4 separate regions of the Homo sapiens genome follow, and regions 1, 2 and 3 are each linked to region 4. The links are contacts of gene promoters, found by promoter capture Hi-C in blood cells and fetal thymus (Javierre and others, 2016). All regions are on one chromosome and are shown on one strand. The core of a region is centred on a gene start or on the middle of the fragment in contact, and the rest is flanking DNA. Distances in the headings are between cores, read along the strand shown.

Region 1 (7,023 bases), core at 12-2,511, 310 kb after region 4:
CAGGATCAGGAGGACAAGGGACGTCAACAGAGAATAGTGGTGATGATAAGGGAGGCAGCAGAACTGTTCCATGTTAAAGGAGACCAAAGCACAGTTGTAAAACACATTTTCAAAAATCCGAGTCCATAGCAGTACTTGAAAGTATAAAGTTAAAAATGGGAAAAGTGCTTCTTTACCAAAGAATGGTAGTGGAGGAGGAGTGATGGGATTTTTTTTTTTTTTTTTTTTTTTGAGATGAAGTCTCGCTTTGTCACCCAGGCTGGAGTGCAGTGGCGCAATCTCGGTTCACTGCAAGCTCCGCCTCCCAGGTTCACACCATTCTCCTGCTTCAGCCTCCCGAGTAGCTGGGACTACAGGCGCCCGCCACCGTGCCTGGTTAATTTTTTGTATTTTTAGTAGAGATGGGGTCTCACTGTGTTAGCCAGGATGGCCTTGATCTGCTGACCTCGTGATCCACCTGCATCGGCCTCCCCAAGTGCTGGGATTACAGGCGTGAGCCACCGCACCCAGCCAGAGTGATGGGATTTTAAAATCACCTGGTGTGACGCCCTGTGCACACAAAGGACTCCGGCCAAGATCGCCGACGATGCTGAAACCACAGGGTGAAAGGACGCAGGCAGGGCACCCCGTGGCTTCAGAAGCCCACGGAGGACTGATGGGGAAGTGTGCCTGTGCATCGCAGAGAGGCCTGGGTGCCACCTCTGTGAGCGGTCGGGCCTGGTGTCCTTCCTCTGAGCAGCGGTGCTGCGGTAGGGGCAGCATCGCCCACGTGGCCTTATGAAACCGAAAGTGCCTTATCTAACTGTGAGGAGACAGATCCGCAGCATGAGACGTTCTTCAGGCAGCTGGCCAGGCCCCCTCAGTGGTGGGGCACGTGCCTGGTGGGGACTTGGATCCCGGGGCAGGCATTGGGGGAGGCACCTGGTGGGGGCCTGGATCCCTGGGGCAGACTGCACCGGGGATGCCCTTCTCAGGCAAGGCTGCTTCAGGGGCACCTGGCTCCTGGCTGCCTGCGGTCTGGCCCACACCCCTCACCACCAGTCACTCTTGTGGGGAGACTGCGTCTCCCCTCTGGGGGCCGGGTTCAGGGTGATGAAGGAGAGAGAACGCTCTGACCTGGAGGGCAGACAGGGCCACCTTCCTTTCTCCTGCAGAGTGAAATTCCCTCTCACATGCCAGGGTCCTTCTCTGGCCTCTGGCAACTCTGCAAATGCTCTGACCTTTGTCCTGCCCCACATTCTGGCAGGAGGGCCTGCAGCCTGGGTGTCAGCCCCCACCCCCACGCCCCGTCTGTGGTTGGACCTCAGTGCAGTGCTTCTGTGCTTGTCCCGCAGGTTCAGGCGTGAACGGCCTGGAGGAGCCCAGCATCGCCAAGCGACTGAGGGGCACCCCAGAGCGGATCGAGCTGGAGAACTACCGCCTGTCCCTGAGGCAGGCTGAGGCACTGCAGGAGGTACCGGAGGAGACTCAGGCCGAGCACAACCTGAGCAGCGTGCTGGACACGGGCGCCGAGGAGGACGTCGCCAGCAGGTCAGCACGCAGGGCTGCAGGGCGCCCACCCGCCACACGGCCCTAAGAGCCTCCTCACCTCTGTGTGTCTCGGTTTCTTCTCAGTGAAGGGAGGCCTCCTGTCTTTCCTGCTGCCCGCAGTCCATTCTCCCCAGTCCCTTTTAGGTTCTTAGCCTCATCTTCTAGTCAGTGAGGACTCCTCCATCAGACTCAATTCAGAGATTCAGGAAGTATTTATTCCTTGAGGACCTGACATGTCCCCAGCTCCAAGTCTGTCATTGGGAAGGAAAGTGGCAGGCTCTGCCCCCGGGTTATTCACAGATTCAGCAGAGGGAAGGACGGGCACACGGGGAGGGACTCTGGGTGATTCAGCCACCAGTGCACCGGGCCGTCTTGAGGGAGGCCTAGTCCGTCCCCCAGGCATCTTTTTTTCTCCTGTAGGTAAAGAAAGGGACTGAAAATGTGTGCCCCAGGGGCCGCATGCAGCACCAGTGGATGCATGCTTAGGCAGTTCCAGAGCTGTAATCACATCCAGCTGGGTGACACCTTTGGGGATGTGCATGCTATAACCCTAGGACTCCCTATATCCACTGCCCTGCACCCCAGGGCTTCCAGTATCAGCGAAGGCTTCAAAGTGTTCAGCCGATTACAGATGATCAAGAGAGCCAAGAATCAAAAGGGGGTCCGGTGTCCTGTGGGGCTTCAGGACAGAAACACAGGCTGCAAACCCGAGGGGCAGAGGCCTCAAGTGGCCTTGGAGAGCATTTGAATCACACACCTTGATTTAGCCATGATGAAGGGAACATGTGGGGATAAGGAGAGCAGAGCAGTTTTTTTAAGGTCCAAGAACGCTTTCCAGAAGGTGTTTGCTGGGCCGAGCTGCTTTCAGCTGCACCCGCCACCTCAGCCCTCATGTCAGACACCCTCTGCCTAGATTCATTCTTGGGCTGCCTCACAGACCGCTCCTCCGTGCATGCCGGGGGCAGCCTCTGCCTTGGTGTCTGCAGTTCCAAAGCTGTCACTGATGGTGCATCCTCATCCAGAACTCTGCTTCCCTATCCAGAGCACCCATGGAGGCCCCACTCTCCCCACTGTGCCCAGATGAGGGGGAGCCCACTCTCTCTCTCCACTGACCCTGCAGTGAGGGTGAGAGATGCTGTGTGTCAAAACACATTTATAAACCCTTGAGCAGAGCTACTGGCTTGACCTTGGGCTGAGTGTGGGTCAGCACCATTTTCTCCACTGTAATTTATAAATTGTGAGAGGCAGTGGGGCAGCAAGTTCATGTAATGTAGCAAGGACATTCCAGGAAGGCTAACCCCTGGCATTTATGGCAGGTATGACAGGAGGGCAGCACAGAAAACATGAAATCAGTCAGCATCTATGCAATGCAATACATGCCTCATCTTACTCAGATTGAAGTTAAAAAAAGATTTTAAAACTAGCATTCATGCTGGGCGCAGTGGCTCATGCCTGTAATCCCAGCACTTTGGGAGGCCAAGGTGGGCACATCACTTAAGGTCAGGAGTTCAAGACCAGCCTGGCCAACATAATGAAACCCTGTCTCTACTAAAAATACAAAAATTAGCTGGGCATGGTGGTGCACACCTGTAATCCCAGCTACTTGGGAGGGTAAGGCATGAGAATTGCTTGAACCTGGGAGGCGGAGGTTGCAGCGAGCCGAGATCATGCCACTGCACCACTGCACTCCAGCCTGTGTGACAGAATGAGACTCCATCTCAAAAAAAATTAAAATTAAAATCAAAAAATAAAATAAAGGCCAGGCACGGTGGCTCACACAGGAGAATCACTTGAACCTGGGAGGCGGAGGTTGCAGTGATCTGAGATCACACCAGTACACTCCAGCCTGGGAGATGGTGAGACTCCGTCTCAAAAAAAAAAAAAAAAAAAAAAAGATAATTAAAAGTAGCATTCAGTGCTATACAGAATGAAAAACAGTCTCTTAAAAGTGAAGAGCCGGGTGCGGTGGCTCACGCCTGTAATCCCAACGCTTTGGGAGGCTGAGGTGGGCGGATCACTTGAGGCCAAAAGTTCGAGACCAGCCTGGCCAACATGGTGAAACCCCATCTTTACTAAAAATACAAAAAATTAGCCGGGCATGGTGGCGGTCGCCTGTAATCCCAGTTACTCGGGAGGCTGAGGCAGGAGAATCACTGGAACCCAGAAGGCAGAGGTTGCAGTGAGCCAAGATCGTGCCATCAAACTCCAGCCTAGGCAACAAGAGCGAAACTGCATCTTAAAAAAAAAAAAAAAAGGGAAGAGCCCAGCTAGGTGTGGTGGCTCATGCCTGTAATCCCAGCACTTTGGGAGGCTGGGGTAGGCAGATCACTTGAAGTCAGGAGTTCAAGACCAGCCTGGCCAACATGGTGAAACCCTGTCTCTACTAAAAATACAAAAACTTGCCAGGTGTGGTGGCACGCACCTGTAATCCCAGCTACTCAGGAGGCTGAGGCAGGAGAATCGCTTGAACCCAGGAGGCAGAGGTTGCCGTCAGCCAGATTGTGCCACTGCACTCCAGCCTGGGCAACAGAGGGAGACTTCGTCTCAAAAAAAAAAAAAAAAATGAAGAGCCCGGCCTGGTGCGGTAGCTCATGCCTGTAATCCCAGTACTCCGGGAGGCCAAAGCAGGCAGATCACCTGAGCCCAGGAGTTTGAGAGCAGCAGTAACATGATGAAACCCCGTCTCTACAAAAAATATGAAAATTATCCGGACCTGCCTGTAATCCCAACTACTCAGGAGGCTGAGGCAGGAGAACCACTTGAACCAGGGAGGCAGAAGTTACAGTGAGCCAGGATCATGCCATTGCAATCCAGCCTGTGAGACAGAGCAAGACCCTGTCTCAAAAAAAAAAAAAAAAAAAAAAAAGCATCTAGGGGAAGGAGCTATAAATGTTGTCTTACTTCCCTGGGTGGCCGTAGGACACAGGACGGGAAGTGCGTGGTGTTTTTCTCTGTCTTCCCTACAGCACCAAGCACAGAATTGGGTGCCTTTCCAGCCGTCGGTCCTTCCTTGCTGAGATGTTAGACTGGAAGATGAGAAATGGCATCATTTTAAGGCATTAACCGTTCCAGCCAAGGAACTCTCATTTCACAAGTTCAGTGAACTCTTAACTTTGGCCTCTGCTGCAGGGGACAGCAGCGTGATGTTTCAGAACCTGACTTTGGAGTCAAACAAAGCCTGGATTTGAAGCCCAGTTCTGCCACCTGCTAGCTGTTGGCAATTTACTTAACCTCTCCCTGCTTCAGTTTCCTCATCTGCAAAGGTGCTGCACTTCATAGGTTTGTTTTGAGGATTAAGTCGTATAAAGCACGGACGAAGCCTTGATGCCCGGAGTTACTGCTCCTGTTACTCTCCTGGTACAGCACAGGTCTCCCTCACCACAGGGCCAGGGGCAGGGCCAGGCAGCCTTGTATTGGTTTCCTTAAACGGGGTTGATGCCGGGACTTGGGTTTGGCTCAAGCTCACCCTGTCCGAGAATGTTGGTAACCAAGCTTTCCCATGCCAGAGTCACCCAGGGCTTGTGATGAAAGCACAACACGTTGGGCTGAGTTTCTGATTCAGCGCCTCTGGGGTAAAGCCCCAGAATTTTTAGTTCTCAAAAGTTCCCAGGTGATGCTGTGGTCCAAAGACCACAATTTGAGAAACACCACTTTAATGTTTCTAAATTTCTCTGATAATAAACATCACCTGGGATGCTTGGCTAAAAATATAATTGCAGCCAGGCATGGTGGCTCACACCCGTAATCCCAGCACTGTGGGAGGCCAAGGCAGGAGGATTGCTTGTGTCTAGGAGTTCAAGATCAGACTCTGCAACAGAGCAAGATCCAGTCTCTACAAATTAGCCAGCGTGGTGGTACGCTCCTGTGGTCCCAGCTCCTCAGGAGGCTGAAGCAAGAGGATCGCTTGTGCCCAGGAGTTCACTGCCTGGGTGACAGAGTGAGACCCTGGCTCAAAAACAAAACAAAACAAATGTAACTTCTAGGCGCACCCTGGAGTATCTAATTCAGTGGGTTTGGGGTGGAGGCCAGGAATGTCAGTGTCCAACAGACCCCCCAGGTGAGTCTCATAATCAATTCATGGTTTAGTCACACAAGCGCCTATAAATCCCAAGCCTTGTCACAGACCCTTGGCCCAGGCCTAATCAGCTTCATGCCTCTACCTTGCAGGCAAGGTGGGGCCTGTCTCCTGGAGGAGACCCTGGAAATAGCAGCTTTGTTTTCACTGGAAAGGCCAGTGGGCCAAAACCAAGGGAGGGCTGGCTTTGTGATGTTTGTGTTGTTTTCCCTGACTGCCTTCCTTTCTGGAAGAATGTGCCCCGGGCAGCAAAGGCAGCTGGTGCAGTGCCCACGTGCTGAAGTTCTTTAGCATTTCCACATTCTTGGCTCTAGAGAGAAGTCAGGAGGGCTAGCACACACAGGTATGTTTTCTGATGGCACAGGCGAGGTCACAGAAAAGTGGATGGCAGGCGTTGCTGTCTGTCAGAATAACACGAAAGTGAGAGAAGGCCGCTCTTTCAGAATAACACCACGAGTGGGAGAAGGCCGCTCCCTCAGGGCTGGCCATGAATAAATGGGGATTTCTGCCTGTTCTCTCCCTCCCGCCTCACTCCCTTTTCCTGCAGAGGCAGCTCCTGAGCCATTGCCGAGCAGGATGCTAGTTTTAGCATGGATTACATTTCCACCGTGTAAAGCCTGCTGCATGATGTGCATCTTCTCCAGCCGCCTCCTCAGCAGGAGAGGGTTTGCACAGTTGTCAGGGAAGGGAACCTAGGGGCATGGCCCAACGGGACAGAGGATTTGAGTCCCTCTGATTATGAGCAGGTTAATTTAAAAGTGAAAACCATGGTTACCCATTGCCCTTTAAAAACCACCCAGGGGCCGGGCACAGTGGCTCATGCCTGTAATTCCCAGCACTTTTGGAGGCCGAGGCAGGCAGATCACAAGGTCAGGAGATGGAGACCATCCTGGCTAACATGGTGAAACCCCGTCTCTACTAAAAAAGTACAAAAAATTAGCCAGGCGTGGTGGCGGGCCGAGTAGTCCCAGCTGCTCGAGAGGCTGAGGCAGGAGAATGGCGTGAACCTGGGAGGCGGAGCTTGCAGTGAGCCTAGATCGCGCCACTGCACTCCAGCCTGGGTGACAGAGCAAGACTCCATCTCAAAAAAAAAAAAAAACCACCCAGGAACTTCAAGTGGTTCCTGGCAGCAGCCTGCTCTTTCATGGTAGGGTCTGCTTGAATTCCTGGTCTGCACTTCTCAGGTTGCATCCAGGCAGGCAGGAGCTTGATCAAGACCTTCTTCCTGACAGTAGCCACCCTGACAGAGGCTACTGGCTGGGAACTCTTGGGTTCTGGGAGAAGCACCCAGGAAGGCACAGCATGACTCCGTGTGGACCCTGGTGGGAATCCCGACTTCTCCTTATGCAAATGACCCAACTTCCTTAGGCTTCGGTCTTGTCATTTATAAAAGCAGCGCAGCCCCGTGACCTAGAGCA
Region 2 (7,187 bases), core at 806-3,305, 330 kb after region 4:
CAGCCTGTCCCTGTGTCCTCCCGGCAGTGGGAGAAACAGGCACACACAGCCGCAGGGAAGGGCCACTGCTCTTTGCGCAGAGACGGCTGGCTCCTCTTCTAGATAGCTTGGGTCCCTAGGGCGGTGGGGCAAGAGCCTCCCAGCTGGCGGCTGAAGGAAACCAAGAGCTGAGCGGGTCAGTGGCTCCTGGCTTTCATAGCACGTGGCTCATCAACCTGCGTGGCAGCTTCTAGCACCCTGCACTCCGTCTTAACCTGAATTTCACCCCCAGATCCACCCCTCAAGCTGTGTCCCTTTCAACACTGCTGCTGCTGCGTTGATATTTCTCACCTGTTTATTTTTTTTTATCTGTGACGATTTTTCCTTTCAAGGTACTGCCAAGGAGTGTAGACTTCTCACCCGCCTGACTCTACCACAGGCATTTCTTAATAGAAAGTCTACAGGAGAGCCGCGTGAAGGACCCAGGCACCAGGGCGGGATCAGGCTAACCCAGGGTGCCCTGGGCTGTGCCTGGCTGGGAGGCCTGTTTGGGTCTCCTTGGTGCTGGCCTCCAGTTCCCTCGCCAGCAAGAGTGTAGAGTTGCCATATTGATCCCTGGGCACCCAGATTCACCCCAACAAATCTGTCAGGCACAGTGGCCCTCTCCATGGGATGGGCCAGATTCTGTTCCAAACGGGGCGTTTGTTCCTCCTTTTCAGAATCGGTGTAGTGCAGCCATGAATTCTTTTATCTTTGCTCCAGAAGTCCCACTCCCTGGTGTTTGATGAACTGTCTTCCTTGAGTGGCCAAAAGCAGTGTTCTCACACCGAGGTTTTAACCAATAGAAATACTTGAGGCATTTCCCCCCTGCTTCCCCCAGCAGGTGCCGATGCTGTAGGATAGCATTTGGCACGGCCAGCAACGTGGGCCACTCTGGTATCTCAGGGAGGCACATGGCCCTAACTGTCAGCTAGTCTGGGAACCCGCCTATCTCTCCCTGTGACGTGGGCCGTCTGTTCCCTTCCAAACCTGTTTCATACAGTTCTTCAAACACTAGATTTGAACCGTCATCTTACAAACTGTGCATAAAAGATAAAAATAAGCTTAAGGAATTATTAAAGAAACAGAAAATCATATAACTGCCACCCTGTTCAAGGGATAAAACGTTGCCAGCATCTTCTAAGTGCCTGGCCTGTGGAGAGAAGATGCTACTTCCGAGGCTGCGCCCTCCCATTTCCACATGGCTTTTTAAGAAATCCACCTAACCGGGCGCCATCAGTTCCCTGCTCCCCAGCCTGGGGCTTTGATCCGTGCGGACTCTTGTATATGGACATCAGAGCATAACTCCTTTCTCCTGAAATTAAAACCCTTAGGGGTAATTTGAGGGTGGCTGGGCTTGAACCCTAGGAGAGCCCGCAGGCCCCCGGCCAGTGGTCCTGTGGGTCTCAGGTGGTGCGGGTCTCACAGTGTCCTCAGAGCAGAGCGTGCCGCCCTCTTCCTGCTGGTGCAAGTTCGGAGTGTGGGAGGTGGGGACGGTGTGTGCGTGCTTAGGGGCCGGCTCCTGGGGAGGGGAAGTTGTCGAGGGTTTTGCCTCATTTTGCAGCCCTGAAGGGCCACTTGGAGTCCAGAGGATGAACTTTACGTACCTTCAGCCCCCAATGCTCTCCCAAAGTATTAGTATTTCTCTAAATTATTGCAAGGGAAGCTCATCTGGTGCCCCTGCACACAGCGCTGTGGACAACCCCCTCAGCTGGCTGGACCTCAGACTTCTCGCTAAAGAAACGGTCCCTCTAATTATGTTGCAGGCTGAGTGTTTCTTACCTGAAATGTTTGAGACCAGAAGTGTTTTGGATTTCGAATTTTTTTCGGATGTTGTAATCTCTGCATATACATAAGGAGAGATCTTGGGGATGGGACACAAGTCTAAACACGAAATGTATTTATGTGTCATATATACCTTGTACACGTAGCCTAAAGATAATTTTATATAATATTTTTAATAATTTTATGCATGAAACAATTTTAGGTGTGACTGTCACCACGAGGTCTGCTGTGGAATTTTCCACTTGGCCTCTTGTCAGTGCTCAGAAAATTTCAGATTTTGGAGCATTTTGGATCTTGGATTTTCAGATTCAGGATGCTCAGCCTGCATTATGAGGGCTGAATGACCCATGGTGTGTGAGGCGGTCAGCACACAGCCAGGCTTTGGCAGATGCTGCTGGGCCAAGGCCCAGAGAAACAGCATTTCCCTTTCCACCCTCCTCCAACTGAGGTTCCTACAGCAACCTTTGGGGGAAGAGGAACAATGCCCCCACCTTCAGCCGCTCTTCTCTTCCCACTTGGCCCCTAGCATTGAGAAATGCCCACCTCCTGTGTTTGGGGGCCCCGGGCCCCCCCCAGCACCCATGCTACGTGTGGAGAGCCCCCTGGGCCTGGCAGCATCTCCCCTCTCCTGGGGCCTGCATGGCAGCGCCCTGAGAAAGGCAGTACCTCTCGCCCCCGTGAAGATGCAGCCTGTCTGTCTGTCCTCCTTTTCTTCCTTCCTTTGAACCTTTCTGCTTTGCAGCCCCATTGGATGAGAATGACCTAGAGGAAGATGTGGACTCAGAACCAGCCGAGATAGAAGGGGAGGCAGCAGAGGATGGGGACCCAGGGGACACTGGTGCTGAGCTGGATGATGGTAGGGGTCCGCCCTCCCCGCCCCTGTGGTGGGAGCTCAGGGAAGATGAAGGCAATATGCTTTCCAGCAAAATCAAGCTCAGTGAGGCCGCCGTTGGGCCTCCTGGTTCCTTCTTGGCTCCACCATGGCTGGAATGCATCTCATTCCACCCAACCACCACCTACCCACGAGCACCAGGCGACTTGGCCTGCAGTCATCCAGCTGCAGCTGGGTGCCTGAGCCAACCTGTGGCTTTATACAAGGCCTTTAATTCTGCTGACTGGCTCCCAAAGCTACATACCTGGAGATGGGTTCTGCATCGCAGTCTGGTTGTGGGGGGCTGAGGGGGTCAGGGACGAGGCTGGGAAGAATGAGAAGAACCCAAGCTTGCGAGGGGGCGCAGGCCTCAGCTGTGGAGTTGGGGTGGCAGTCAGGGCTACTGAGAGGAGGAGGTGCATAGAAGTGGGCCCGTGAGGCCAGGCCTGCCCTCCACAGGCACACCCTGTCTTTGTCTGTCGCAGCCCATCATGTGTGACTGTTGCTGTATTTTAAAAGAAACAGAGCCCCACAGGCTTTGATGCGGCCCCGCGTTGCAAAGGCAGGAGGGTGCTCTTGGCCGGGCCCCTCAGGAGCGGGGGTGGTCTGGTAGGCAGGTCTGTCCCTGCGTAAGAAGGGCCTCCAGGCCTGCACCTGAGCAGCTGTGTTGCAAATGAGCAAGTGGCGCGGCTGCTCTCAGGTGGAAAAGGAGTTGGCCTCACTTAGGGTGTGCACCCACTTCTGCCCCTTCCCTCTGCCAGATCAGCACTGGTCTGACAGCCCGTCGGATGCTGACAGAGAGCTGCGTTTGCCGTGCCCAGCTGAGGGGGAAGCAGAGCTGGAGCTGAGGGTGTCGGAAGATGAGGAGAAGCTGCCCGCCTCACCGAAGCACCAAGAGAGAGGTGAGCCTGTCTTTGATGGGAGAAACAACTTTCAGAATTCCTACGAGGGCCATATGCACACAAGAGTGGCTCAGGGGCCAGGCGCTTCAGAGCAGAGCCATGGTGCACACCAGCCTCCGAGGTGTGGGCAGCTCCTTGCCTTTTCCTCCTCTGTCCACCCTCCCTGTGCCACAGGCTGCTGCAGTTGCTTTGGCCAAAGGCCCTTTCCTTGCATAGTTTGGGTCTGGGAGAAGGTAGAAGGTTTGTCCTGAAGCTCTGTGTGCAGAGTCTGCACATGGAGGAAGCCCACGGCCTGACCTGGTGTTGACAGGAGCACCTGCAGAGAGTGCCGGGCAGCCCCGGGAAGACGGTTCCAGGACCCTGGCCTCTGAGAGAACCTGTGCTTTCCAGGAGAACTGGGAGCCGACTCAGCGACTCGCCCTCTACCCTCCCCTCCACCCTCTGGGGCTGGCTGATAGGGGTGCCTTCCTGGCACATGGGGGGGCTTCCTCTTGTAAGTCCCTGTGTTCATTCTTTTCAGGTCCCTCCCAAGCCACCAGCCCCATCCGGTCTCCCCAGGAATCAGCTCTTCTGTTCATTCCAGTCCACAGCCCCTCAACAGAGGTAAGGGTTTGGGGCTCGCTGTGGGGTACAGAGAACTAATGGGACCCCAAGGACACATATTAACTTCTCTGTTTCAGGGCCCATGGTGTGGGTCCCACCAAGACTGGGGCTAACATAGCCTGCTGGCCTCCTCATTCTGAGGAAGACTGAAAACTATCATCCTCCTTGTACTAAGTGGAGCTGTTGATGACAGGAGTGGCCTTGGAGTTCCAGCTCAGTACTCTTGGGGATGAGGCCGTCTGGGTGGCACCTACTACCTCTGCCCCACTCTGATCCCAAACCTGAGTCCTCTACCCCGTGTCACTGTGTTAGGTCCACATACCACACACCATATGTTTAATTTAAACAAATTTATTAAAAATAAATAATTTATTATATTTAATAAATGTATAATAAACATAGGTGTATTAAAATTGTTTATAAATATAAATTTATTAAAATTTATGTTTATAAATATAAATTTATTAAAATTTATGTTTATAAACATAAATTTATTAAAATTTATGTTTATAAATATAAATTTATTAAAATTTATGTTTATAAATATAAATTTATTAAAATTTATTAGAACAAATTTATTTTTTATAAATTTATAATATATTAAAAATAATATAATTTTTATGATAAATGGTATAAAACATTTGATATTTTATTAAAAATAAATTTGTTTAAATTAAAGCAATAATATCGATGGGATGGTTGGTTTGATATGACAAATGCATTTTTAACATTATGTTAAAATAAATGTATAACCATTGAAATTTACAACATCTGGCCAGGCGCGGTGGCTCACGCCTGTAATCCCAGCACTTTGGGAGGCCAAGGCAGGCAGATCACGAGGTCAGGAGATCGAGACCATCCTGGTTAACACAGTGATAGCCTGTCTCTACTAACAATACAAAAAATTAGCCGGGCGTGGTGGCGGGCGCCTGTAGTCCCAGCTACTCAGGAGGCTGAGGCAGGAGAATGGCATGAACCCGGAAGGCGGAGCTTGCAGTGAGCCGAGATGGCACCACTGCACTCCAGCCTGGGCGACAGAGCGAGACTCCGTCTCAAAAAAAAAGAAATTTACAGCGTCCATGCAGACAGCCTGTGGTGTGTGAACCACATGGAGAATGCTGCAAAGCCAACTGTGACAGCAGGTCCTGTGGAACATGGTTTGGGAAATACTGTCTGCAGGTCAGATCAGGGAGAAAGCTGGAATATAAGGCCTGCATCTGCTTGATTTAGTCTTTGGGATTCTAGGAAGCATGGAACTATTCAGTGATTTTTTTTTTTTTTTTTGAGACAGGGTCTCAGTCTCTTGCCCAGACTGGCATGGGCAATAGTGCAGTGGCATGATCATGGCTCACTGCAGCCTCCCAACTCCTCGGCTCAAGCAATCCTCCTGCCTCAGCCTCCCAAAGTGCTGGGATTACAGCATGAGCCACTGTACCTAGCCTGTTCACTGATTGGATTTTTTTTTTTTTTTTTTTTTTTTTTTTGAGATGGAGTCTCTCACTGTCACCCAGGCTAGGATGCAGTGGCGCGATCTTGGCTCACTGCAAGCTCCACCTCCCGGGTTCACGCCATTCTTCTGCCTCAGCCTCCCGAGTAGCTGGGACTGTAGGCACCCACCACCACACCTGCCTAATTTTGTTTTTGTATTTTTAGTAGAGACGGGATTTCACCATGTTAGCCAGGATGGTCTCGATCTCCTGACCTCGTGATCTGCCCACTTCGTCCTCCCAAAGTGCTGGGATTACAGGTGTGAGCCACTGCGCTCAGCCGTCTGTGAAATGGGGAGGCTTTGTTTGAGGCTCTTGGATGGGGTGATATAAGGGCTGGTGCAGGAATCTCTGCACATCTTTGAGCTTCCTAGGGAGGACAATTTGATCATAATGCACCGTGATAAATAGCTGTGGTAAGTCTTCTTACAGTCCTGGCCCCTCTGTACGTACGTCAGGGATCTTGGCGCTCTGGGGCCTCCTGGAGGGTGAGAACTGCATTCCTCTATGTCCTTTTGGCCAGTGTTCCTGTGAGTGGACAAAGAATATAGGATGTATTTGAGATGAACCAAATCCTGAAAACCCAGTTTGTCTAAACTAAGCAGAGTGGTTCTAAGGTTCTAAACACTGAACACCTGGAGCAGAAAGTGGAAAGGGTTTTCCTGGAGCTGTTCTAATAACAGCTGGAAGGACGGGGAAGTCCTGCAGCAGGCACAGGTGCAGGCACTTTGAGTGAGAAGGCTCCCCGAGGATGCTGCTGGTCGTGAAAGCCCACACCTTCTCAGCGGCTTCTGTCTTCCTTCCCTGTAGGGGCCCCAACTCCCACCTGTCCCTGCCGCCACCCAGGAGAAATCACCTGAGGAGCGCCTTTTCCCTGAGCCTTTGCTCCCCAAAGAGAAGCCCAAAGCTGATGCCCCCTCGGATCTGAAAGCTGTGCACTCTCCCATCCGATCACAGCCAGTGACCCTGCCAGAAGCTAGGACTCCTGTCTCACCAGGGAGCCCGCAGCCCCAGCCACCCGTGGCGGCCTCCACGCCCCCACCCAGCCCACTCCCCATCTGCTCCCAGCCCCAGCCTTCCACCGAGGCCACTGTCCCATCCCCTACCCAGTCCCCCATACGCTTCCAGCCTGCCCCGGCCAAAACATCCACCCCACTGGCCCCTCTCCCTGTCCAAAGCCAAAGTGACACCAAGGACAGACTGGGCAGCCCCCTTGCTGTGGATGAGGCCCTCAGACGGAGCGACCTGGTGGAGGAGTTCTGGATGAAGAGTGCGGAGATCCGCCGCAGCCTCGGGCTCACACCTGTGGACCGCAGCAAGGGGCCCGAGCCCAGCTTCCCCACGCCTGCCTTCAGGCCAGTGTCCCTCAAATCCTATTCCGTTGAAAAGTCCCCCCAGGATGAGGGACTCCACCTTCTCAAGCCTCTGTCCATCCCCAAAAGGCTGGGCCTGCCAAAGCCGGAAGGCGAGCCGTTGTCCCTGCCAACCCCCCGGTCCCCGTCCGACAGAGAGCTACGCAGC
Region 3 (6,919 bases), core at 1,806-4,305, 400 kb after region 4:
CTCTATAAACATTTTACATTTTATGATAATAAAATAATTTGTGAGCCCACGGCCCCGTTTCCCTGATGCCTGAGGTCTTCCTGGGGCGGCATGGGAGGGCTGAATTCAGGTGCGGGGTCGGCCCCAGGGCACTGAGCGCCTGGGTGAGTATCTGGAATGAGGAAAACAAAGCTTGGCTCCCGCCAAGGAGAAAGAAACTCAGGATGCGGGGCTCAGGCCAGGACCTCGGCTCAGCCGCCATTTCTGGAGCACAGGCCAGCTTCGTCGTCCTCCCGAGGGGTCCTGACCAGGGCTTCCCAGGAGCGGCCGCCCACTCTGTGTGTCCCTTTCCAGGTCGCCACTGGGACACTGTGAACCAGGAGTGAGTCGGAGCTGCCGCGCTGCCCAGGCCATGGACTGTGAGGTCAGAGGCCAGATCCCCTGCGGGTGCCTTGTGGGGGGCGGGGTCGAGGGGTAAGGGCCTGCGTGTCCCCCACCACGCATCCCTGAGGGCTGAGGCTGAGCCCGCCTGGCCCTTACCACAGCTCGGCACAGACGAACCCCGCCCAGCCCCTTCACTGAAGCAGGCGGGAGCCGGGAAGTCCTACCTTTCCCTGTCCTGCGCCTTCCTCGCACTCCGCTTGTGGTGCAGCCCCTCCACACCGCGCCTGGGGCTAACTGCAAGGGCGAGGGGGCTTTGGGTTTAAGACCATTTAACAGCCATAGGCTGTGGGTCCCAGCACTTTGGGAGGCCAAGGCAGGAGGATTCCTTGAGGCCAGGAGGTCGAGGCTACAGTGAGCTGTGATTGTGCCACTGCACTGCAGCCCTGTCCAAACAAACACGAAAGAGATTTAAGAAGAAGAAAGGGGGCATTAGATAAGCACTTCATATAATTCTCTCAACTGTAAAAGCAAGACAATACTTACCTTGTCTAACCAATGCCATTGCTATGAGGAGCAAATAAATCAATAAAGGTCAAATAAAAGTACTGTAAACTGTAAGGTGTTTCAAAAATTTTTTAACCCACTGGATTTAAATTTCCCTTCATAGCTGGGCGAGGTGGCTTAGGCACATAATCCCAGTGACTTGGGAGGCAGAAGCGAGAGGATTGCTTGAAGCCAGGAGTTTGATTGAGACAAACCTGGGCAACATAGTAAGACCCCGTCTTTATAAAGATAAAAGCGGTGGAGTTCTGGGAGGGGAGCCCGGAGCCCCCGCCTTCAGCAGGACGCTCCCTGGATGCTTCCTTGTCTCTCCTTCCCTTTAAATGGTCTGGGGAGAGAAAAATCACAGCACACGGGTGCTCTCTCCCACCCGCTGCATCACATCCTCCTCCCCTCCCTCCTGCCGAATTCTGCAGCCTCTGGGCGCCTCACGCTGTCCTGGCAGCCTCTGGGAAGGCATCTGCGAAGTCTAATGCCTTGGCACTTAGTGACTGTGTCGCAGTTCCTGAGCATGGAGAGCACCCGGCACCCAGGAGGTTCTCAAGCTGCCCCTACTGGGGGTCCTTTCCAAAGGTGGGGACGGTGTGGATTTCAGCGTGGTGGCTGGAGGGCTGAGGCAGTGGCTCGAGTTTGATGTTAGTTACATAAACAGAGGAGATTGCAGGAGCTCCCCCGGCCCTGATCCAGGCTTGTTGTCAGTGTCCAAAAGACCACTCTGGGTGCCACTGTCCCTTCCCACCTGCCGCTGCTGTTCCGGCTTCGCGCTCTGGCGGCCTCCGCAGGTAGAACACCACCGTCACCCGCGCAGCGCCCTGACTCGCCGGAGGAGGCGCCTGCCCTCCCGCCCGCCTCTCCCCGGCCCCCTCAGTGAGGGAGGGTGGACGTCGCCACTCCCCTTTCTTGCCTTCGGAGTGAGGAAGCGGAGGCAGCAGTACGGCAGCCCGCCCAGGGCCACAGAGCTGGGGTCACAGCGAAACACTCCGAAACTTTCTTTTCAATTATAGGGTTCAGCCTTTTTTCCCATCATAACTTTAATTCTGTGTAGATACTTCTATTTTTTATTTTTATTTTTTTTTTTGAGATTGAGTCTCTGTGTCGCCCAGGCTGGAGTGCAGTGGCACGATCTCCGCTCACTGCAGGCTCCGCCTCCCGGGTTCAGGCCATTCTCCTGCCTCAGCCTCCCGAGTAGCTGGGACTACAGGCGCCCGCCACCACGCCCGGCTCATTTTTTGTATCTTAGTAAAGACGGGGTTTCACCGTGTTAGCCAGGATGGTCTCGATCTCCTGACCTCGTGATCCGCCCGTCTGGGCCTCCCAAAGTGCTGGGATTACAGGCGTGAGCCACCGTGCCCGGCCTTATTATTATTATTTTTTTGAGACGCAGTTTTGCTCTGTCGCCCAGGCTGGAGTGCAGTGATGTGATCTCCGCTCACTGCCAGCTCCGCCTCCCAAGTTCATGCCATTCTCCTGCCTCAGCCTCTCGAGTAGCTGGGACTACAGGCGCCCACCACCACGCCCGGCTAATTTTTTATATTTTAGTAAAGACGGGGTTTCACCGTGTTAGCCAGGATGGTCTCGATCTCCTGACCTCGCGATCTGCCCGCCTCGGCCTCCCATAGTGCTGGGATTGCAGGCGTGAGCCACCGCACCTGGCTAATTTTTGTATTTTTAGTAGAGATGGGGTTTCACCATGTTGCCCAGGATGTTCTCGACCTCTTGACCTCATGATCCGCCCGCCTCGGCTTCCCAAAGTGCTGGGATTACAGGCGTGAGCCACCGCGCCCGGCCAGCACCATCTTTTCCTTTCCACTGGAACTGATCTTATTATTTTTGCCTCCATTAGATCATTTTTGTAACATGTCTTGCAGGATTTACTGTCTTGATCGTTTCTCTTAACATATTTTTTTCCTGTGATCTAAAAAGATAAAAAACTATCAATTCTTTTATCAAAAGTGGATCTAGAGGCTGGGCATGGTGGCTCACGCCAGTAATCCCAGCACTTTGGGAGGCCAAGGTGGGCAGATCACCTGAGGTCAAGAGCTCCAGACCAGCCTGGCCAACATGGTGAAGCCCCATCTTTACTAAAAATACAAAAATTAGCCAGGCGTGGTGGCACGTGCCTGTAACCCCAGCTACTTGGGAGGCTGAGGCAGGAGAATCCATTGAACCTGGGAGGCAGAGGTTGCAGTGAGCTGAGATGGCACCATTGTACTCCAGCCTGGGCAACAGAATGAGACTCTGTCTCCAAAAACAAAGTGGATCTAGAAGATCAAAAAAGGGCATGATTCCATATTGGCACAGCACAAGCCCTATTCTTGGAATTAAATGGCATCCATCTTCCGAGCCCACTCCTGTCCTGCAGGGCCGGCCCAGCCTGTCCCTGAGGCACTGGTCCAGACAGGAGCCTGTCCACACAGCTGTCCACTCAGTGGGCCCAGTGCTTGGCTTCACGGTCACTTGCGGCACCTAGACCTCCTCTGGCAGGTGCCATTCTTTCCTCTCCCTCCCTGCCGCCTCGAGTCTTTATTTTCTGTGGGATCTTGAGTTTGATAACCTGACCTGCTGTGGTGGCAGCACCGCTCTGTGTCCAGATTCTGGATGCCAATTTACCAAGCGCAGGTCAAAAAGAAGTCCTTGGGCAGCGGCTGCCTGCGTTAGCTTCTTGGGGCTGCTGTAGGCGGTTCCAAGCAGGAGAGTGGCTTTAAACAACAGATGCGGATCCCCTCCCGGTTCTAGAGGCCCAAAGGCTGGAATCCCATGTTGCCCGGCTGCTTCCTTCTGGGGCGCTCTCCTGGCTCCTGTGGCTGCCTCTGTCTTCACATGGCGTCCTCTCTGTGTGTCTCTGCTTAAATCTCCCTCTCCTTTCTCTTACAAAGACACCAGTCATTGGATTTAGGGCCCACCCTAATCCAATATGACCTCATCTTAACTTGATTACATCTGTAAAAACCTTATTTTCAAATAAGGTCACATTGACAGGTACTTGGGGTTAGGACTTGCGCTTTTCTTTTTGGGTGACACAGCTTAGCCCAGCACTAACTGTGTCACCAGGACTGTCGCTTGAGGCAGGAATGAAGCACATCCTGTTTGTAAGCTGTCTTGTGCCATGCGGCTGCTCCGTACAAGAATTGTTAGGAATTGATGCAGTGGAATTTTGCATACAGTTTTTCCTCTCTTCAGAAACAACTTTGGAGAAGTAAAGGCTGAATAGCAATACACAAGCACCTTATTTTATTTTATTTTAGATTCAGGGGCACGTGTACATGTTTGTCACATGGGAATATTGTGCACTGGTGGGGACTGGGCTTCCGGTATCGCATGGAGAGGGACTCTTTCTGCGCTCCCCCGCCCCCGCCTCCCTACTGTAAAGTGCCCGGTGCCTGCTCTCTCCATCTTCGTGTCCATGGGCACCCATTGTTTAGCTCCCACTTATAAGTGAGAACAGTCAGTATTTGATTTTCTGTTTCTGAGTTAGTTCACTTAGGGTAATGGCCTCTAGCTCCATCCGTGTTGCTGCAGAGGACATGATTTTATTCTTTTTTATGGCTGCAGCAATACACAAGCTCCTTATTTTTATTTATTTATTTATTTATTTTTGTTGTTTGTTTGTTTGTTTTGAGACGGAGTCTGGCTCTCGTCCCCCAGGCTGGAGTGCAATGGCGCGATCTCGGCTCATTGCAACCTCCACCTCCCGGGTTCAAGCGATTCTCCTGCCTCAGCCTCCCAAGTAGCTGGGACTACAGACGCCCGCCACCAGGCCCGGCTAATTTTTGTATTTTTAGTAGAGACAAGGTTTCATCATGTTGGCCAGGCTGGTCTCAAACTCCTGACTTCGTGATCCGCCCGCCTCGGCCTCCCAAAGTGCTGGGATTACAGGCGTGAGCCACCGCGCCCGGCCAAGCTCCTTATTTTAAGCATTTTTTTTTTCTTTTTTGAGACAGGGTTTCACTTTGTCACCCAGGTTGGAGTGCAGTGGTGTGATCATGGCTCATTGCAGCCTCAAACTTCTGGGCTCAAGTGACCTTCCCGCCTCAGTCTCATGAGTAGCTGGGACTGCAGGTGCATGCCACCTTGGCTAATTTTTATTTTTTGTAGAGATGGGGATCTTGTTGCCAGGCTGGTCTCAAATTCCTGGGCTCAAACGATCCTCCTGCCTCTGCCTCCCAGAGTGCCGGGATTACAGGCATCACCTAGCAAAGCATTAAAACAATTTGCTGCTGGGTGCAGTAGGTCACACCTGTAATCCCAGCACTTTGAGAGGCCAAGGAGTTGGGGGGAGTTGGGGGGCGGGCGGATCACGAGGTCAGGAGTTCGAGACCAGCCTGACCAACATGGTGAAACCTCGTCTCTACTAAAAATACAAAAATTAGCCGGGCGTGGTGATGCACACCTGTAATCCCAGCTACTCAGGAAGCTGAGGCGGGAGAATCATTTGAACCCAGGAAGCGGAGGTTGTAGTGAGCCGAGATCACACCACTGCACTCCAGCCTGGGTGACAGAGCGAGACTCCATCTCAAAACAAAAACAAAAACAAAAAAACAATTTGCCCTGTAAGAACTGTCCTCTAAAAGTTTTTGGTTTTTCTAATGAAAAATATTATGGACTTAGAGAATAGAAATAAATTTCTGCCTACACTTCCATCTTCCCTCCCACCCTTCTCTGGCAGCCCAGGAGGTCTTTTTGTGTGAATCTGCGCAGATCTCAGCGTCCCTGCCCTTCTTTGTGTTTTGTTCTCTCTTCCACCTTAGGTCTTTCTCTGGTCTGGGCACACCCAGCTGCAGGGCTCACCTTTGCCTGTAAGAATACAGCCCCCAAACACAGTCAGTACCCCAAGAACAGTCCCTGCCATCTCTGGCGGCACAGATGCTGGCCAAGCTGCAGCTGCCAGTGCTGCCCAGGGAGCTGGAGAGCTGCCGGCCAAGAGCCCAGCCCCTCTGGGTAGAGCAGGAGCCAGTGCCACCACTCCCTGTGGGATTCGGATTAAGGACACACCCACCCAAAGTAAACCAAGCTTGGCCAAAGGCAGGTGCCCAGCTGTGGTCACCACTCCGCAGTAGTTACTGAAAATCTTCCATCTGCCCAATACCCTCCTGAGCCCGTGAAGGAGATGAGCGGAAAGAGGCTCCGCCTGTTGGAAGCACAGCCAGGAAAGGTGGGCTCAGATTGCTGAAGCCTGCAGGGGAACTTGAAGAAAGCGTGCCAGCACAGGATGGCGGATGATGCCCGCATGACACTCGCTCGCCTCCCCGGAACAGCCTGTGGCCTTCTCACCTAGTGGGAAGCTCCCCAGCCGCGTGTTTCAGGAGGTCCAGCAGATTCCTCTGCAGAGGAATCCCTTTCTGCAGAGTCGGGGCTCGCTCCCTGCCATCTACGGGCAGTGCTGCTTAAAGCTGTGGCTGCAGACCTTGCCTCTGCCTGTTGAGACCTCCTGCAGGGCCCTCCAGCCCACAGGGTCCCTCAGCTCTCTGGGACCTGTGAGGCTCTTTGGGCCAGCTGCAACTGGAGCTCTTTGCAGGAGGGGCCTCTGGCCTGGCTGAAGTCCCGGCTTCCTGACTCCCCTTTCCCCTCAGGTCAACAACGGTTCCAGCCTCAGGGATGAGTGCATCACAAACCTACTGGTGTTTGGCTTCCTCCAAAGCTGTTCTGACAACAGCTTCCGCAGAGAGCTGGACGCACTGGGCCACGAGCTGCCAGTGCTGGCTCCCCAGTGGGAGGGCTACGATGAGCTGCAGACTGATGGCAACCGCAGCAGCCACTCCCGCTTGGGAAGAATAGAGGCAGGTAGGCGGCCGGCCCCACCTCCTTCCCCAAAGCTGGGCTTCTCTGTCGCCAGTAACATTCAGGGAGCCTCAGGGCTGGAAGGGACCCCCGGGATCACTCTGCCTCTGCAGTTTCAGCTGCCACGTACGCTGGTATCACTTAATCACTTGACTGGTCTCTACTTGATTCCCTCCAGTGCTGCTGAACTCACTGCCTACCATTTTTGGGTGACTCT
Region 4 (7,121 bases), core at 3,187-5,686:
TCATAGTGGTGCACGCCTGTGGCCCCAAATACTGAGAAGGGTGAAGGAGGAGGATCACTTGAGGCCAGGAGTTTGAGGCTGCACTGAACTATGATTGTGCCACTACACTCCAGCCTGGGCAACAAATGAGACCTTGTATCTAAATAAATAAATAAGATGAAATAAAATAATAATAATGGGTAACATCGAAGCACTATTTCTTATAAAAGGTGAAAGCCTTTTATATGTACTGTCTTATTTATCCTTACACAGCCATGTGAATTAATTACTGTTATATTTCCATTTGACAGATGAGAAAACTGAGATACAAAGAAGTAAGTGCCTTTCCCACTGGCAAGTGATGGGCCAGATGTAGACAAGCTGGACGGGGTTTAAGTCCAGCTAACATGCTGCTCAGAGTGAGGAATAAACTCAACCAAATCATTGGTGGGAATGTAAATTAGTAGAGCCATTATGGAAAACAGTATGGAGATTCCTTAAAAACCTAAAAATAGATATACCACATGATCTAGTAATGCCACTGCTGAATATATATCCAAAGGAAAGGGAATCAGTATGTTGAAGAGATATTTGCACTCTCATGTTTACTGCAGCACTGCTCATAATACCCGAGATACGGAATCAACCTAAGTGTCTATCAAAAGAGGAATGGATAAAGAACATGTGGACTATATACACAAAATGGGATGTTATTCAGCCATTACAAGAGAATGAAATCCTGTAATTCCCATCAACATGGATGAGCCTGGAGTACATTACGTTAAGTGGAATAACCTAGGCACAGAAAGATAAATACCACATGTTCACACTCATATGTGAAAGCTCAAAAAGCTTATCTCCTAGAAATAGAGAATAGAAAGCCAGGCATGGCAGTTCACACCTGCAATCCCAGCACTTTGGTTGGCTGAGGCAAGAGGATAGCTTGAAGCCAGGAGTTCAAGACCAGTCTAGGCAACATAGCATGTTGCCTAAATAAAATAAAAAATATTTTATTTTCTAAAAATAAAAATAAAATTAGCCTAGCATGGTGGCATGTACTTGTGGTCCCAGCTACTTGGGAGACTGAGGCAGGAGAATCAGTTGAGCCCAGGAATTTGAGGCCACAGTGAGTTATGATCGTGCCACGGCACTCCAGCCTGGGCAACAGGGCAAGACCCTGTCTCCTTTTTTTTTTTTGAGATGGAATTTCACTCTTTTTACCCAGGCTGGAGTGCAGTGGTACAATCTCAGCTCACTGCAACCTCTGCCTCCCGAGTTCAAGCACTTCCCCTGCCTTAGTGTCCCAAATAGTTGGAACTACAGGCATGTGCCACCACGCATGGCTAATTTTTGTATTTTTAGTAGAGACGGGGTTTCACCATGTTGGCCAGGCTGGTCTTGAACTCCTGACCTCAGGTGATCCACCCATCTCGGCCTCCCAAAGTGCTGGGATTACAGGCATGAGCCACCGCGCCCAGCCTGGAATATATTCTTAAATTCATGTTGGATGGCTCAGATAACAACAACCTCTTTTTCTTAGTAAATATTGACTTTCAATAGTTATAAACAGTTGTTCTTCTTACAAGGCCCAGCCTAGGAGGACTCAACTGAAATGATGACAGCAGACAATTCCATCAGCAAGAAAGAGGATTTTGAGCTCATCATTGAGGGAAAGCTGATGAAAGAGAGCAGAGAGGTTCCAGGCTGCATTTTCCAAGATGTTGTCCTCTTCTCCGCCAAGACCTCCCAGATACTTCAGTAGGATATAGCAGTAAAACCTCATGGAGCAGATCATTTGAGCAGGCTCGGTCCCAAAGGGAAACAAAATACAGCAGCCTTTCAGGGTAGATCACACTGGGGAGACAGGGAGGCGGGGCAGCAAGGAAAGGAAAGTGAAGCTTAAAAGGTCTAAGGAGGATGGGGAGGGCAAGGCGAGCAGAGAGACCGCAGCTGAAGTTAGCAGGGGCAATAAGCATCCACCAGAGAAAACAGCCTGGGCGGATTCCAAGGAAGGGGATTTTCAAACTCAACTGCTGACTCAAAAAAAGACCCCCAGGCCAGGCGCGGGGTCTTTGTTTGAGACTCTGTCTCAAACAAAACAAAACAAAAATCCCAAATACTAAACTAACTTAGCTCCCACCCTACCTGAATTTTTTTTTTTTTTTTTGGTTCACGTTCTCTCATGATCTTCCCGAAATGTTATCCTTAAGCTTCGGGGAGAGGTGAGCAACGGAAGGAACTGGCCCAGGCCCACCACTAAAGAAGCCCCAGGACCAATCGGGGTCCTCAGAGAAGCCCCAGAAGAGCCAGGAACAAGCTGCAGAAAACCTGGGGAGGGTGGGGCCTCCACCCAATACTCCACTCACAACTGGACTCTCTGCCAGGAAAGCCAACTCCAACATTTAGATGCCCTAAAAGGAACAAAATTAACCTGCCAGGAACATGATTCAAGCAGCCTCGGTGTCTTCCGACCCACCCCATCATGGCAACCACAATTGTAGACCGCAGTCTCGATGACGTGTTCACATTATTTTGCATTTCTTTTTTCTTTTTTTATTTTTATTTTTATTTTTGAGACGGAGTCTCCCTCTGTCGCCCAGGCTGGAGTGCAGTGGCCGGATCTTGGCTCACTGCAAGCTCCGCCTCCCAGGTTCACGCCATTCTCCTGCCTCAGCCTCCCGAGTAGTTGGGACTACAGGCGCCTGCCGCCACGCCCAGCTAATATTTTTTATTTTTAGTAGATGGGTTTGCACCGTGTTAGCTAGGATGGTCTTGATCTCCTGACCTCGTGATCCACCTGCCTCGGCCTCCCAAATTGCTGGGATTACAGGCGTGAGCCACCGCGCCCGGCCTATTTTGCATTTCTTGAGTAATCGTAATATGCGGGTTAGAACACACGGATTACAACACTTTGGATGAAAAACCACATAATAGGGAAATTTTGGGACTACTCTCTCTCAAAAAAAAAAACAGCTCGTGGAAAAACTAGGACTTACCTTCTTTGAAACTATGTTTATGTTAAGCATTTTCCCCTTTGTAAGCTCATCATTGTGTAAAAGTGTCAGAACTGTGCAACACATTTTTTAACAGTCCAAAAGCAAGTTCTTTGATAAATCAATATGAAGCCGTGCACCTGTGTTACTCTCCCTCCCGTTTTGTTCCTGCGAACACATCGGTAACCTGCATTCACTCTCCATCCAACTCTGTTCAATACCAGAAAGAAACTTCAGATGAAATGCTTTTCAGTATTTGCCTTGTTTTCTGGAACAACTTTAAAGTACAAATTATACCTAAATAAGTACAAATTAAAGCCTCTGCTTTAATTTTCAAACACTTTGAACCCAGATTTTCAGGGGTCTCAAAATGGAGTTTTGTGTTTAAAAGTCTAAATTTAGCTTTCTTCCAAGGAAAAGGGTGTGAAGAAGAGAGGTTAAGACTAAAATACTCTGATTTGCAGAGTTTGACAACATCCTTCCAATTTCTCAATATGAATGCCCACTGACCCAGCCATTCCACTTCTAGGAATTTTCCACCGATATATTTGTATGAATGTATACATAAAATTATATTCATTGCCGTATCTGTGCCAGTAAAAACTGGAAACAACCTAAATCTCCATGCATTGTTTAAACAATGTACTTCCCATACCATGTATCAGGTTTTTTTGTTTGTTTGTTTGAGACAGTTTCGCTCTGTCGCCCAGGCTGGAGTGCAACGGTGCGATCTCGGCTCACCGCAACCTCCGCTCCCGGGTTCAAGCGATTCTCCTGCCTCAGCCTCCCGAGTAGCTGGGATTACAGGCATGCGCCACCACGCCAGGCTAATTTTGTATTTTTAGTAGAGACGGGGTTTCTCCATGTCTGTAACTCCTGACCTCAGGTGATCCTCCCTCCTCGATCTCCCAAAGTGCTGGGATTACAGGCGTGAGCCACCGTACCCGGCCGAATCAGTTTTTTGTTTTATTTTTAATGCCATTAACACATCTATATGTCCTGCCATGAAAAGATGTCCATAATATACTCAGTGGACAAAGCAAGTTCGAAATGATTTTAAAGACTTGTACATAGAAACATTTCTGATAAGGTACAAACAAAAATGATACTGAGTGGAAGACTGCGAGACACATTTGTCTGCATTGTTTGAATTTTTTTACAAGCTTACAACACTTCTGCAATTTCTTTTTTTGTTTTAATTAAACACAAAGTCATGTCAAAAGTCCAAATAACTATATTAGCTTAGAAAAAAATTCACTGGCCCAAAATATATGCACGTAGTAAATACAGATCACTATCATAATTTGCAGAGCACAATTATTACTTAATTCCTTAATTATCTGACTGGCATAGGAGCAGAGTTGGATGTCTGTGCTAGAAAGAAAACTTCCAAAATGAGCCCCGAACTTGCCTCAAGCGCCATGCAAGCGTCCAGCCTCCGCTGCTGAGTTCCACGTCGGGACTGAGCCGGGGACCGAGCTGGGACCGAAGTTCCGCTCCGGGCCCGCCTTGGTCTGGCCCCGCGCTCGTGGCACCCCGCCCAGCTTTCGTTTTCCACTGAATGGAAAGCGAAACTTACAGCGGCCTCCGCGCCGGGAGCTGGGCGCCAGCGTGCGGGGAAACCCTGCCGGCCCGAGCTTCCCGCGGCTGCCGTTGCAGCCGCGCACCTGCTCCAGACTTCCAGCCCTCGCTTTTTTTTTTTTTTTTTTTTTTTGAGACGGAGTCTCATTCTGTCGTCCAGGCTGGAGTGCGGTTGCGCTGTCTCGGTTCACTGCAAACTCCGCCTCCTGGGTTCAAGCGATTCTCCTGCCTCAGGCTCCGGAGTAGCTGGGATTACAGGCATGCGCCACCACTCCTGGCTAATTTTTGTATTTTAGTAGCGATGGGGTTCCGCCATGCTGGCCAGGCTGGTCTCAGGTGATCCGCCCGCCTCCTAAAGTGCTGGGATTACAGGTGTGGGCCACCGCGCCCGACCTACAGGCGCCTTTTTATTTGCGATTTTAAGGTCCTTGCAATTAGCCTACGTGTTAGAGTCATTTGGCGTTTGGTAGTATCCATGGCAGCATTTTTTCTTTCTTAATGCTATTGTATTTCTTGGATCGGGTGTCTTCACATCACCGGCCTGTGGCTTGGATGCGGCACATGGTGTAATTAGGAGCTCCCCTGTGGGCATGCAGATACAGATATTTCTCCACTTAAGAAGGGGTCAGGGGGCGCGGTGGCTCACACCTGTAATCCCAGCACTTTGGGATGCTGAGGCAGGCGGATCACCTGAGGTCAGGAGTTCGAGACCAGCCTGACCAACATAGTGAAACCCCATCTCTACTAAAAGTACAAAAATTAGCTCGGCGTGGTGGCGCTTAATCCCAGCTACTTAAGAGGCTGAGGCAGGAGAATAACTTGAACCCAAGAAGCGGAGGTTGCAGTGAGCAGAGATCGACAAGAGCAAGACTCCGTCTAAAAAAAAAAAAAAAAAATGGGGTCAAGTCCCAGTGAACCCATCATGAAGTCGAAACATCGTAAGTGAAACCACGGTAAGTGATGGACCATCTGTGTATATATAAGGTTAAGAGATCTGTAACATGCACACCGGAAAGGCTTATTACCTCTTTAGAGATGTATTTCTTGTATGTAGACTCATGGGGGTAGGGGCAGAAGGGTTATCTGCTAGGGGCCTCAAACTCCAGCCGCTGGAATTTGCGCAGGAAAGCAGGGTACAATTCCCCCAAAGCGATCATTCTTTCTGAAAGCCGTCCCCGCAGCAACAGACAAATAGCCTCCAAAAACCCAAAGCTGCCAGAACCTCACTGAAGCGTTGGTAGGGTCTGCAGTAAGGTACAAAATACCATGGCATGAAGATGTATAAACGTGTCCATAATAGGGTGGATGTGTGTTAGAAGCATGAGCACAGATATACACATACAGGCTATCCACACGTCCATCGTCAGCCCAGACTCCGCTTACATTGCTGCTGGAACGGAGGCAGTGTCGCCCACAGTGCAGCATGTTCTCCCTGGAAGGCTGGTGGACTTTGCGCAGTATGGTGTTTACACAGGTACACGGTGGTGGGCGCAGGGTCCGTCCTCATTATATTTGCTGACCAATCAGTTATATAACCAGCTTCATACATCTGGTAAGTCTTGTCCACAAACAGGAACCTCAAAAACTCAAGTGAGGGCAATGAGGAGAGGAGGTTGCAAAATTTGATAAAATATGCTAAATACAGCAAGTCAGTAGAAGGCTAAGGAGCAAGCTGCAGTTGCTTGCAGCAACTATCAGCAGAAAACTATTAATAGTCAATCCAATGATTCTATCTGAATCTTGGTAGGTCGGTGGAGCAAAGTAATTGGTGTTGCTGCCCCAGTGCAGAATGGACAAGGGTGAACCTTGGGTTGGAGGCTGGACTATATAATGTAAGGATCCATTACACTTCTATGGGGCTCTTCCTTCCGTCCTTCATGGTACCCTCCTGAACAATTCCGTGCTAAGGCCATCAGGTGTGTCAAGCAAAGTGGGCGTTTGTGTAGTATGTTCCACAGTGGCCCAAGCAGGGTGCTGGACTGGAGCAGGTTGAGGAGGGTGGCAGCACAGTGGGGCTGCCCAGCACAATGTCAGACACAAATGGGTGCTGGTGCAGCCCGGCCCAGGGTCACAGCCCAAGCAATTTGAAGATGTGGCACATCCCGGTATTGGAGTGGCCCAGTGTGTGGTGTCCAGGGAGGGCAGGGTGCTGGTGGAGATGACAGATTAGTTACATACAGGGGGATGACCAGGTAACTGAATGTATTAAGGATAATTGGAGCCAGAGTTGAAACTCTCAGAGATAGGAGTTACAAATAAGGAAAGGGAGAATGAGCCCACTAGTGTTGAACTGGAATTGGACTTAGCAGTGTGGATCCATGATTTTCAGTATGTATACACAGATAGATAAAGAAGTACAAGGCGGGTGGATCACGAGGTCAGGAGATTGAGACCACCGTGGCTAACACGGTGAAACCCCGTCTTTACTAAAAATACAAAAAATTAGCTGGGTGTGGTGGCACACGCCTGTAGTCCCAGCTACTCGGAAGGCTGAGGCAGGATAATCATTTGAACCCGGGAGGCAGAGGTTGCAGTGAGCCAAGATTGCATCATTGCACTCCAGCCTGG

What was found. Contacts are between HindIII fragments. The CHiCAGO score rates a contact against its expected background, and 5 or more counts as called.
Region 1: a contact is called between a fragment that was not itself captured here and the fragment with the promoter of USP18 in region 4, in 1 of 17 cell types (naive CD8 T cells). The highest score is 5.7, in naive CD8 T cells.
Region 2: a fragment that was not itself captured here is called in contact with the fragment with the promoter of USP18 in region 4 in 3 of 17 cell types (M0 macrophages, erythroblasts and endothelial precursors); the score reaches 5.5 in M0 macrophages.
Region 3: a contact is called between a fragment that was not itself captured here and the fragment with the promoter of USP18 in region 4, in 2 of 17 cell types (endothelial precursors and erythroblasts). The highest score is 6.5, in endothelial precursors.

What each region holds. Positions count from the first base shown.
Region 1 is chr22:17,836,329-17,843,351 of GRCh38, reverse strand. MICAL3 (microtubule associated monooxygenase, calponin and LIM domain containing 3) reads left to right here. Exons shown (of 32, transcript NM_015241.3): 20 at 1,335-1,530. Among named protein-coding and RNA genes, the nearest start is that of LINC00528, 63 kb to the right of the region's middle. The HindIII fragment of the contact is 7,527 bases long and covers 1-5,024 here.
Region 2 is chr22:17,818,419-17,825,605 of GRCh38, reverse strand. It overlaps MICAL3 (microtubule associated monooxygenase, calponin and LIM domain containing 3), which reads left to right. Exons shown (of 32, transcript NM_015241.3): 23 at 2,546-2,659; 24 at 3,436-3,576; 25 at 4,097-4,179; 26 at 6,477-7,187. Among named protein-coding and RNA genes, the nearest start is that of LINC00528, 45 kb to the right of the region's middle. The HindIII fragment of the contact is 1,942 bases long and covers 1,085-3,026 here.
Region 3 is chr22:17,743,589-17,750,507 of GRCh38, reverse strand. BID (BH3 interacting domain death agonist) reads left to right here. Exons shown (of 6, transcript NM_001196.4): 2 at 334-403; 3 at 6,495-6,705. The coding sequence starts at 392. Among named protein-coding and RNA genes, the nearest start is that of MIR3198-1, 17 kb to the left of the region's middle. RefSeq lists enhancers at 1-333, 5,593-6,213. The HindIII fragment of the contact is 5,764 bases long and covers 174-5,937 here.
Region 4 is chr22:18,147,485-18,154,605 of GRCh38, reverse strand. It overlaps USP18 (ubiquitin specific peptidase 18), which reads right to left and starts at 4,436. Exons shown (of 11, transcript NM_017414.4): 1 at 4,384-4,436. It overlaps LOC124905076 (a long non-coding RNA gene), which reads left to right and starts at 5,392. Exons shown (of 2, transcript XR_007067999.1): 1 at 5,392-5,506. RefSeq lists enhancers at 1,767-2,016, 4,376-4,695. The HindIII fragment of the contact is 4,848 bases long and covers 4,138-7,121 here.